Linked DNA regions of Homo sapiens: all the other regions are linked to region 1. Evidence: promoter capture Hi-C in 16 types of primary human blood cells and fetal thymus (Javierre and others, 2016). All regions are on one chromosome and are shown on one strand. The core of a region is centred on a gene start or on the middle of the fragment in contact, and the rest is flanking DNA. Distances in the headings are between cores, read along the strand shown. Region 1 holds the start of SLC37A2 (solute carrier family 37 member 2). Region 2 has its middle 23 kb from the start of PKNOX2-DT. Region 3 overlaps CCDC15 (coiled-coil domain containing 15).

The links. The method cuts DNA at HindIII sites, captures the fragments that hold promoters and counts their contacts. A CHiCAGO score of 5 or more calls a contact.
Region 2: a fragment that was not itself captured here is called in contact with the fragment with the promoter of SLC37A2 in region 1 in 1 of 17 cell types (M2 macrophages); the score reaches 5.4 in M2 macrophages.
Region 3: a contact is called between a fragment that was not itself captured here and the fragment with the promoter of SLC37A2 in region 1, in 1 of 17 cell types (M2 macrophages). The highest score is 6.0, in M2 macrophages.

Annotation. Positions count from the first base shown.
Region 1 is chr11:125,062,017-125,064,716 of GRCh38, reverse strand. SLC37A2 (solute carrier family 37 member 2) reads right to left here and starts at 1,412. Exons shown (of 18, transcript NM_001145290.2): 1 at 1,291-1,412. The coding sequence starts at 1,349. RefSeq lists silencers at 1,124-1,203, 1,414-1,603. The HindIII fragment of the contact is 6,676 bases long and covers 1-2,700 here.
Region 2 is chr11:125,140,252-125,142,951 of GRCh38, reverse strand. No RefSeq gene overlaps it. Among named protein-coding and RNA genes, the nearest start is that of PKNOX2-DT, 23 kb to the left of the region's middle. RefSeq lists an enhancer at 605-1,161. The HindIII fragment of the contact is 1,142 bases long and covers 849-1,990 here.
Region 3 is chr11:124,990,461-124,993,160 of GRCh38, reverse strand. CCDC15 (coiled-coil domain containing 15) reads right to left here. Exons shown (of 16, transcript NM_025004.3): 9 at 1,578-1,700; 10 at 474-581. Among named protein-coding and RNA genes, the nearest start is that of CCDC15, 38 kb to the right of the region's middle. The HindIII fragment of the contact is 1,232 bases long and covers 657-1,888 here.

The sequences.
Region 1 (2,700 bases), core at 163-2,662:
ATGGGTTCATTCTTATGTCTTTGTGAGAGTCAGGATTTTAATCTTTTTCTGAAAAATATCTTTTAACAGTCTCCAACTCAAAAAAGACTAGGTAAATAATCTAAACGAGTGAAGAAGGTTAGAATTGATGAGAGCTCTCAACAATTAAAAAGTGTGTAGGGTAGCCAATTGTCTCATTTTGCCCAGGATTGAGAGGGTTGCCGACAAAAGACTGTTTCAAAACCAGGACAAATTGGCCACTTTAATAGCACCTGCCCTATCTAAAGGGGACTCCTCAATCCTATTCATTTAATTTGGAAATTTAGGCCCAGTATTGCTACATCATCCATTTTTCTTTTCTTTCCTTTTTTTACTTCTAGAGACAGGGAGGGGTGTGAGGGGGGAATGGAGGGGTGGTCTCACGATGTTGGCCAGGCTGGTCTCGAACTCCTGGCCTCATGTAATTCTCCCATCTTGGCCTCCCAAAGTGGTGGGATTACAAGCATGAACCACCATGCCCGGTCCACGTCGTCTATTGTTCAAGAGAAGTCTGGAATCTAGCTATTTTTGTTAAATTTTATGATTTGTAAATAATGGCAACTAACACAATATTTTAAAAACTGTGCAGACCAAACGGACTGCTCCAATGGTTGACCGCCTCTAAGGAAGAGTGGCTGAAACCCCTCCACCCCACCTTGCAGCCCAACATGTGGTCCCTGCGGTCAGGAAGAGAACCTCTGTGAAGCCCTTCTCCCACTGCCGAGGGGCTGCCCTGCTCTGCTCTGAGAGCTGTGCCCTTTCCAGGTGCTGAAAGGCCTCGAGACGAGCTCCCAGGACCACTGAGTTCTGGCCTTGGTGTTCGAGGGCTAAAGGAGACCAAGAGGGACACTCACAAACCCCAGTGGCAACCCCTTTCCTCTACCATCCCCTGGCCTCGGTTCCCCAGCCTTCGAGCCCAGGTTCCCCAGCTGCCCAACGACAGAAAGGCGCTCTGAAGGCGCCCCGGATGTGTGTTAGGAGGGGAGGATGGAAACGGGAAACGATGGAGACCCTCCCTGGCAGCCTGTTCTTCCCCAGTGTCACCGAGCCAGCGTCGCGGGGTCTGGGGGAGCGCGGGCGGAGTTGGGCAGGGAGGGTTATCAACCTCCGAGGCGGGCGCCGCTGGAGGAGCTCGGGACCAAGTCCCCCCAGCACCCCTGGCCACGCGGCGACGCCGGGGCCGATCTGGGGTGATCTCCGAGGCCCCCCGCGGCCCCTGCAAGCCCCGAGCCCAGGAGGTCCCGGCACGCCTCCCTCCCCTGCCCCGCTCACCAGCTGTCCCTGGAGAAGGCCCGGAAGAACCAGACTCCCGGAGCCAGGGAGGACCGCATTTTGCCTGACCGGTACCTAAGGCTGAGTCGACGGAGGAGGCTACAGAGCTGGGCGCGTGTCCCGGGCTGGACTGGCTGTCAGCGGGGTTTAAATGCCCCGCCGGCCGGCCCGCCCTGGCCCCGCGGCCTGAGTACGGCAGCGCCCGCCCCCTTGCGCCCGCCCTCGGGGTCGGGTCCAGCGCAAACCCGCCAGTCGTCCCTAGCCCGGCCGCTGGCACCACAGCGCTCCTGTGCTTTGCTTCCCCGCCACTGCCCGACAGCTCTGAGGTGCTGGGGCTCCTCATTCCGCCCTGCACTTTCTGCCTCACCACCCGCTGGGGAACCGAAAGCAGCAATCTCGACGCTGTCCGGTGTGACGTGCCTGCCTGCCCGCACTACCCCGCAGCGCTTCCTGTCCTAAAAAGCCATGGGCTCCGACACGGGCGGGACACGAGACGCTGGAGGGCTGGAAGTCACACTCAGCGGCCCTGCATGACTAATCTCGGTACTCTCACCTTCTGGGAGCGCAGGAGTTTTTTTCGTGGGCGGGGGCGGGGGGGGGACAATATTCGGCCCCAAACACACCACAGGCTCAGGCTGGGGCTTCCTGCCCTGCTCATATTCCACAGGACCCCACTCTTCCCCGGCTTCACAGACACCGGCCCCCACGCGCTCCCGCCATGACAATGTGGCAGTCACTCCTGCTCTCCTTTCTGGAGGCAAGCAGCCACCAGGCAGGGACTTCTGTGGTCCTGAAAGTGACTGCCTCTAGCCTGAAGATTTCAGGGTATGTTTCCACTGATAATTGTGAGATCCTTGTACATGAACCCAAGGGTGAAATACAGAAGGCTGCAAAGGGAAGTATTCCCCTGAGGAATAAAGTTAATAGAACATAAAACAGGAGTGTCGGAGCAAATGGGTTTCAGCCCTAACCCCACCCTGCCCCTAATTCCTAGGAGTGCCCAGGCCCTACGCGCAAGGTCAGAGAAGTGGAGTAACAACTCCACCAAACAGATTAGGACCTAGAATAATGGGCTTGGCTCGTACCAGCCCTAGAATCAAGAAAAAGAGGGTAAGCAGAGTTGTAAAAGCCTCTGTTAATCCCAGGCAGTCAGGGGGCATAGGTCTAGTGGCAGAAATGAAGACGGTAACACGCCAACGACAAAAGGTAAAGGAATAGAGAAAAGAAGAAAGGCATAAGTAGAAGGGAGGCCCAAATAGGGTGCAGAGGCTTGAAACACCAAAGGACCAGTGTCATTAGCGGCAATTCACTAAATCAAACCCCTGATTAGACCACTCACTGTACTTGGGGGTATATTCATTTCACTCTTACAAGTCAGTTAGGTGGCTATTACCCACCTAGGTAAGGTGA
Region 2 (2,700 bases), core at 170-2,669, 78 kb before region 1:
TCATTCTTTCGTTCATTTGACACATACTGTGTTTCAGGTGCTGGCTGGGAAAAGCAGGAATTGGGGAGCGGGTAGACACTGAGACTGGCCATGACACTCACCAGGCCTTACTCCTTCCCCTTGTCCATGGAGCTCAAGGACTTTGCATTCTAGGGGATGGGGTTGATAAATAAATTATTACAACGTGATTATAAGTATATCAATATATCTACATCTATCTGTCTACCTATCTACCTACCATCTACCTACCTATAAAAGGAGTACAAGGAAGACAGCCCATCTCTGACTAAAGAAGTCAGGGGGAGCCTCAATCTAGAGAGGGTACCACTGGAGCCAGTGCTGAAGGTTATGATGGGAATATCCTAGGAGAGTATCGGGGATCCTGGGAGCTTCCCTGGAAAGTCTGTGACTGATGCCTGAGCTCTTCAACCAGAGTCATCAAATTCAGATATTCACTCTGAAAGGAGCCTCAGAGGCCCTCTCTATCCACAGGTGAGCCGACTGAGCAGTGCCAGGCCTGGGGTGAAGCGGAATTTCAGGAAGCACCCCGTCTCCAGCCACACAGGCGCCAACCCGCCAGCACCACCCTGCAAGCAAGGCCTCACCCTGGTCTCAGGCACAGCTCTCTCCAAGGGTCACACAGCAAAGCCAACAGTGCCATGCAAGGACCCCTGCCGCCTGCACTCCAGTCTTCTGCGTTTTGTGATTATGGAGAGCAAGGGAAAGGGAGAAGGAAAAGAAGGGGAAGAGGAGTCAAGAAATGCACCGCAGTCTCCTGTTCCTACAACAGAAAAGACAGCTCTGAAACTCTATATCCACCCACTTCAAGTTCCCGCCTTCCTCAAGCTTTATGTTCAGAAATGAGGATCTCTTCCCCACAGAGCCCTTCCCTCCCCTCTTTCTACTACGTGCTCTTCCAATTCCACACCTTTTCAACATTTATTTCAGCTGCAGATTGTCTTTCAAAAGCTGGCGGGGCGAGCCCTGCAGAGCCCACCACCGCGGCCAGAGGGTTGTAGTTCTACAGTCAGCCAGCAGGGGGCAGGCCTGCTCCGAGTCTCCGTCCTGCCCCGACCATCCCAGCCCCCCAGCCCAGTCACAACTCCTTAGAGATGCAAATTGAGAGGCAGCCTTCCTAACCCGAGAGGGCTGCTAATTCTCTGACAGTATGCAGATTTCCATCTTGCCTTTGCCTGGGTTTATTTGTTTTACTTTGCAATAAATTTAATACAGACTCCCTGAAGCAGAGAGGCAGATGGACTATAAAGTGCATTTTGAGCAGCCTTAGTTACTAGGTTAGTGTGGGTTTTGATCCCTGCTTAAATTATATCTATGAAATTTGACATGGATTTGGGTCTGGGGTTTGCTGGCTCCTTGGTGCTCTGGAGCGGCTTTTAGAGCATTTACAAGGGTTGATTTGATTATTGGGGCTTTAATTTTTCACAGAGGCTAACGAGGAGGCTGGGAAGCCCGGCCGGGGCCTGGCAGGAAGATGGAAAAGCTGGGATAAGTTGGGTTTCTACCTGCCCCAGTGTTCACGGTATCGAAATCGTTTTCTCATGTCCCTCGAGGGGCCCTAAGTCACTCTCACCAAAGAGCTGCATGCGGAAACCTGTTCTGATTCCCGGGGTAGTAGTGCAGCAAGGAGCTAGCTCAGATTCTACGAAAAAAGTCAGACGCACATATGGGACAGACATAACTAAAACATCTATAAAGAAACATTAACAAGAATGGTACAGATCAGCATTGTATAACAATGTAAATTGGATGTGAGGGGACTTGGCAGAAGGACAAAAGTCAACACACTCCTGTTAACCCCTTTGCCTTGTGCCAGAGTGTGCGGCCTCCCACTTCCCTACTTCCTTCCAGCAGATCCCTGAAGAAAGGAGGCAGAAGGAACTAGGAATGGGATGAGTTGGGTTCTTGCCCTGGCTCCACCGATTACTTCTTTGTTCAGATATTTGGTGAATATATTTAATTTCTGCAAGCTTCAGTTTCCCTCTGCACAGCTGGAATTTCATTATCATGAGGACCCAGTAAGAGATCTTCAGGAAGAATGTGTGTAGGCTGTAAAGGACCGGACCATAAAAAGTGAGTACATGGACAGATGTCATTCCCCGGTTGTGAAATGGTCATTGATGGATTAGGGTAGCAAGGCTTCAAGGCCAGAGAGGAGCTATTAATGGAATTTCCAAAGCCAGTCCATGAGGCAACATTGGTGGAATGAGTTGGGTTTCACAAACTAGCCAAGGTGTGAGACGGCCAGCTTTCTCACTGGTGGTGAGTTCTGTTCACCTGTGTGCGAAGCCTGCCTGCCAGCAGAGGACACCCTGAGAAGGTTCCAGCAGCAGCAGCAGCAGCAGCAGACGCCGAGGATTGTCCTGCAGAGCCCTGAGGGCTTGGCCACCCTGGCTGTGGGAGACTGGCAGGGGCTGGTGCTGCAGATTCATCTTCTCCCGCGTGAACCCGAGTGCAGGCAGAGCTCGGAGACAGAGGAGGGAGGGGAGGGAGGGCCCCTTGGCAAGAACCCAACTCATCCCATTCCTAGTTCCTTCCGCCTCTTTTCTTCAGGGGTCTGCTGAAAGGAAGTAGGGAAGTGGGAGGCCCGTCCCTCCTGCCTCCCTCCTCTGCATCTTCACATCTCTTAGGCCAGAGACTGGAGCAGGAAAGGGAGTTTGAGGGGGAACTAAGAGGAATGTG
Region 3 (2,700 bases), core at 23-2,522, 71 kb after region 1:
ACAACAAAATACAAAACTGATTGTCTAAGCAGAAATGACGGGCTAGTGACAGTATTATAGACTTCAGTGACAATCCCAGAGTAATGACACTAGGTGAGGATAATAGAACACAGTTAAAGCTGTGTGTGTGTTCAACATAAAAATTTCCAAACTTGCATCAAAGTAGAAAAAAAAAAAGTATAATGAATCTCAAGATTCAACAATTACCCAGATTCAACAATTAGCAACATTTTGCTTTATTATCTATCTCTTCTCCAATGTTTTTCCTGGAGTATTTTAAAGCAAATTCCAGATTATTCTGGCACATTTTGAAATAACCAAAAACATTATACTCTTAGCTTAATTCTGGAGGCCTTAATTCTATGTATTCCACAAACAAGCTAGCTTGACAGGCTTCAGCCTCAATGTTAATATGATTTAGGCTTGTTCCCCTTTTAGAAGGTATACAGTCCTCCTACTGTATTCGGTTCTACCTGTTCTCTAGGGGAGTCTTGGTCCTGGATTTTAGGTACAACATATTGATGATAGTCCAGAGGCAATTCTTCTCTCACTCTTTCTTCTCTCATAAAAGATGCAGGTTGCTTGAGAAACATATTTTAAAGGAAAAACAACAACAGAAAAAAAATTGTGTAATGCTAATCATAATATCATAAGCTTCAGTGAAAACTCCAGAGAAATGAAACCAGGTAAAAATATTCTGATACGTTTTGATATGAGGGAGATGTTACACTTTTAGCTCAACTATGTAGACCTTAATTCTTAATCCCATCATTGACAGAATAGTCTGACAAACTCATCAAATCCTAAGTATCTTCTAGTTCCTACATTGTACATGTAGGGGCATTATGCTTGCAGCAATACTGTTGGCTTTGGTAAGAGTTGAAGAATAATCTTGTTAAATTAAAATAGTCAACTGATTCTGGAATAAGATATGAACGTGATACATCAGCCTCAGAAATCACTGAACTGATTTTGACTCATATAGTTCCCTAGACCAGGGTCTTTTGTACCACTGAAGTACAAAGTAGAAGAGAAAAAAACAAAAAGGAGAGAGACCAGGAGGAACTGAATTGTTTAGTGTTTAACACTCTATGCTCCTGAAGCAGTTCCTCTGTTCTAATAGGACTTAGGATCATCTTCCCACTAATGTGGGAAGGAATAAAAAATACTGTATTCTGGCCGGGGACAGTGGCTTACGCCTGTAAACCCAGCACTTTGGGAGGAAGAGGCGGGCAGATCACCTGAGGTCAGGAGTTCGAGACCCGCCTGGCCAACATGTTGAAACCCCATCTCTACTAAAAAAACAAAAATTAGCCAGGCGTGCTGGCATGCGCCTGTAATCCCAGCTACTCGGGAGGCTGAGGCAGGAGAATCGTTTGAACCCAGGAGGCAGAGGTTGCAATGAGTCGAGATTGTGCCACTGCACTCCAGCCTGGGCGACAGAGAAAGACTCCATCAGAAAAAAGCCACTATATTCTTAGGTTAGCTCCAAAATCCCTCATTCTAAATTACCAGTTGTTGGGATTTATAAAACCTGGGTACTTCCTTCCTGTTTATATCTTTTTCTTCTACTCTACCTGATTTTTGATGTCATCCTGGTCCTGGGATTTGGGAGGCAAACACTGATAGTCTGCCAGAGAAAAGTCTTCTCTCCCTTTCTCATCTGTCATATCAGAGTATGGCTCCTTAAAGTGTACTTTCTAAAAGATAAAATAATAAAAAACTATAAATTGTCTAGCAAGACTAATATGATGGCAATAATATTCTAGGCTTCATTGAAGGCCAAAGGGTAGTTTTTTTCAGGATAATATAAAACATTATGGAATAAAAGAGACACTCATACTTTTTGTCAGTTCTGAAGTTTAGCTGAGAACAACCTTTGAAAGCTTCAAACTACACTCTAAACAATTCAGTTCCTGTTGGTCTCTGTCATTTTTCTTTTCTACCTTGCCTCTGATGGAGGCCTGATGATGCCTGCATAGAAGATCCTGATGGACATCCAGAGGAAGTGCCTCTCTCCCTCTCCTACCTATCAAAATGGATGTTGGCTGCTTCAGACTTGCTTTCTATGAAAGAACAAACACAACATATCAATTGCTCCGTTAAGAATGACAGGTTAAGACTTTAGGTTTTAGTGAGAATTCTGGAGTTAACCAAGATCAGAATATAATTGAGCACCTTATGGAAAAACCAAAAACTACACTCCATTCCACAAAAGTCCAACCACAACCCTAAGTAATCTAATTCCTGTTGGTCTTTCTTCTTCCTTTTAGTCTAACTCATCTCTGGTGGAGGGATGGCCTTGGAACCTGTGTGAAAGATACTGCTGAGTACTTATGGACCACTCCTTTTTCCATCTTTCAGCTGTCTAAGCAGATAATGGCTGCCAGAAATATTTCTCCCAATGAAGAAGATTAAAAATAAAAAATTAAATTGTTCACAAAATCTGGGTAGAGTGTTGATTTAAAAAATTGAATAAAAAGAAAAGAAACAGCAAATTGTTTATTTGGAGTAATATGCTGCTGGTAATACTTTAACATTTAGTAAGAGCACTGGAGTTTTGAGAAATCAATCAAGAAACTATTTTTTCCAAGTATGGATCTCCAAATCAGGTACAATATACAGCATACCTATTTTTATTATGCTTTGCAGATGTTGTGTTTTTTACAAACTGAAGGTTTGTGGCAATCATACGTCAAG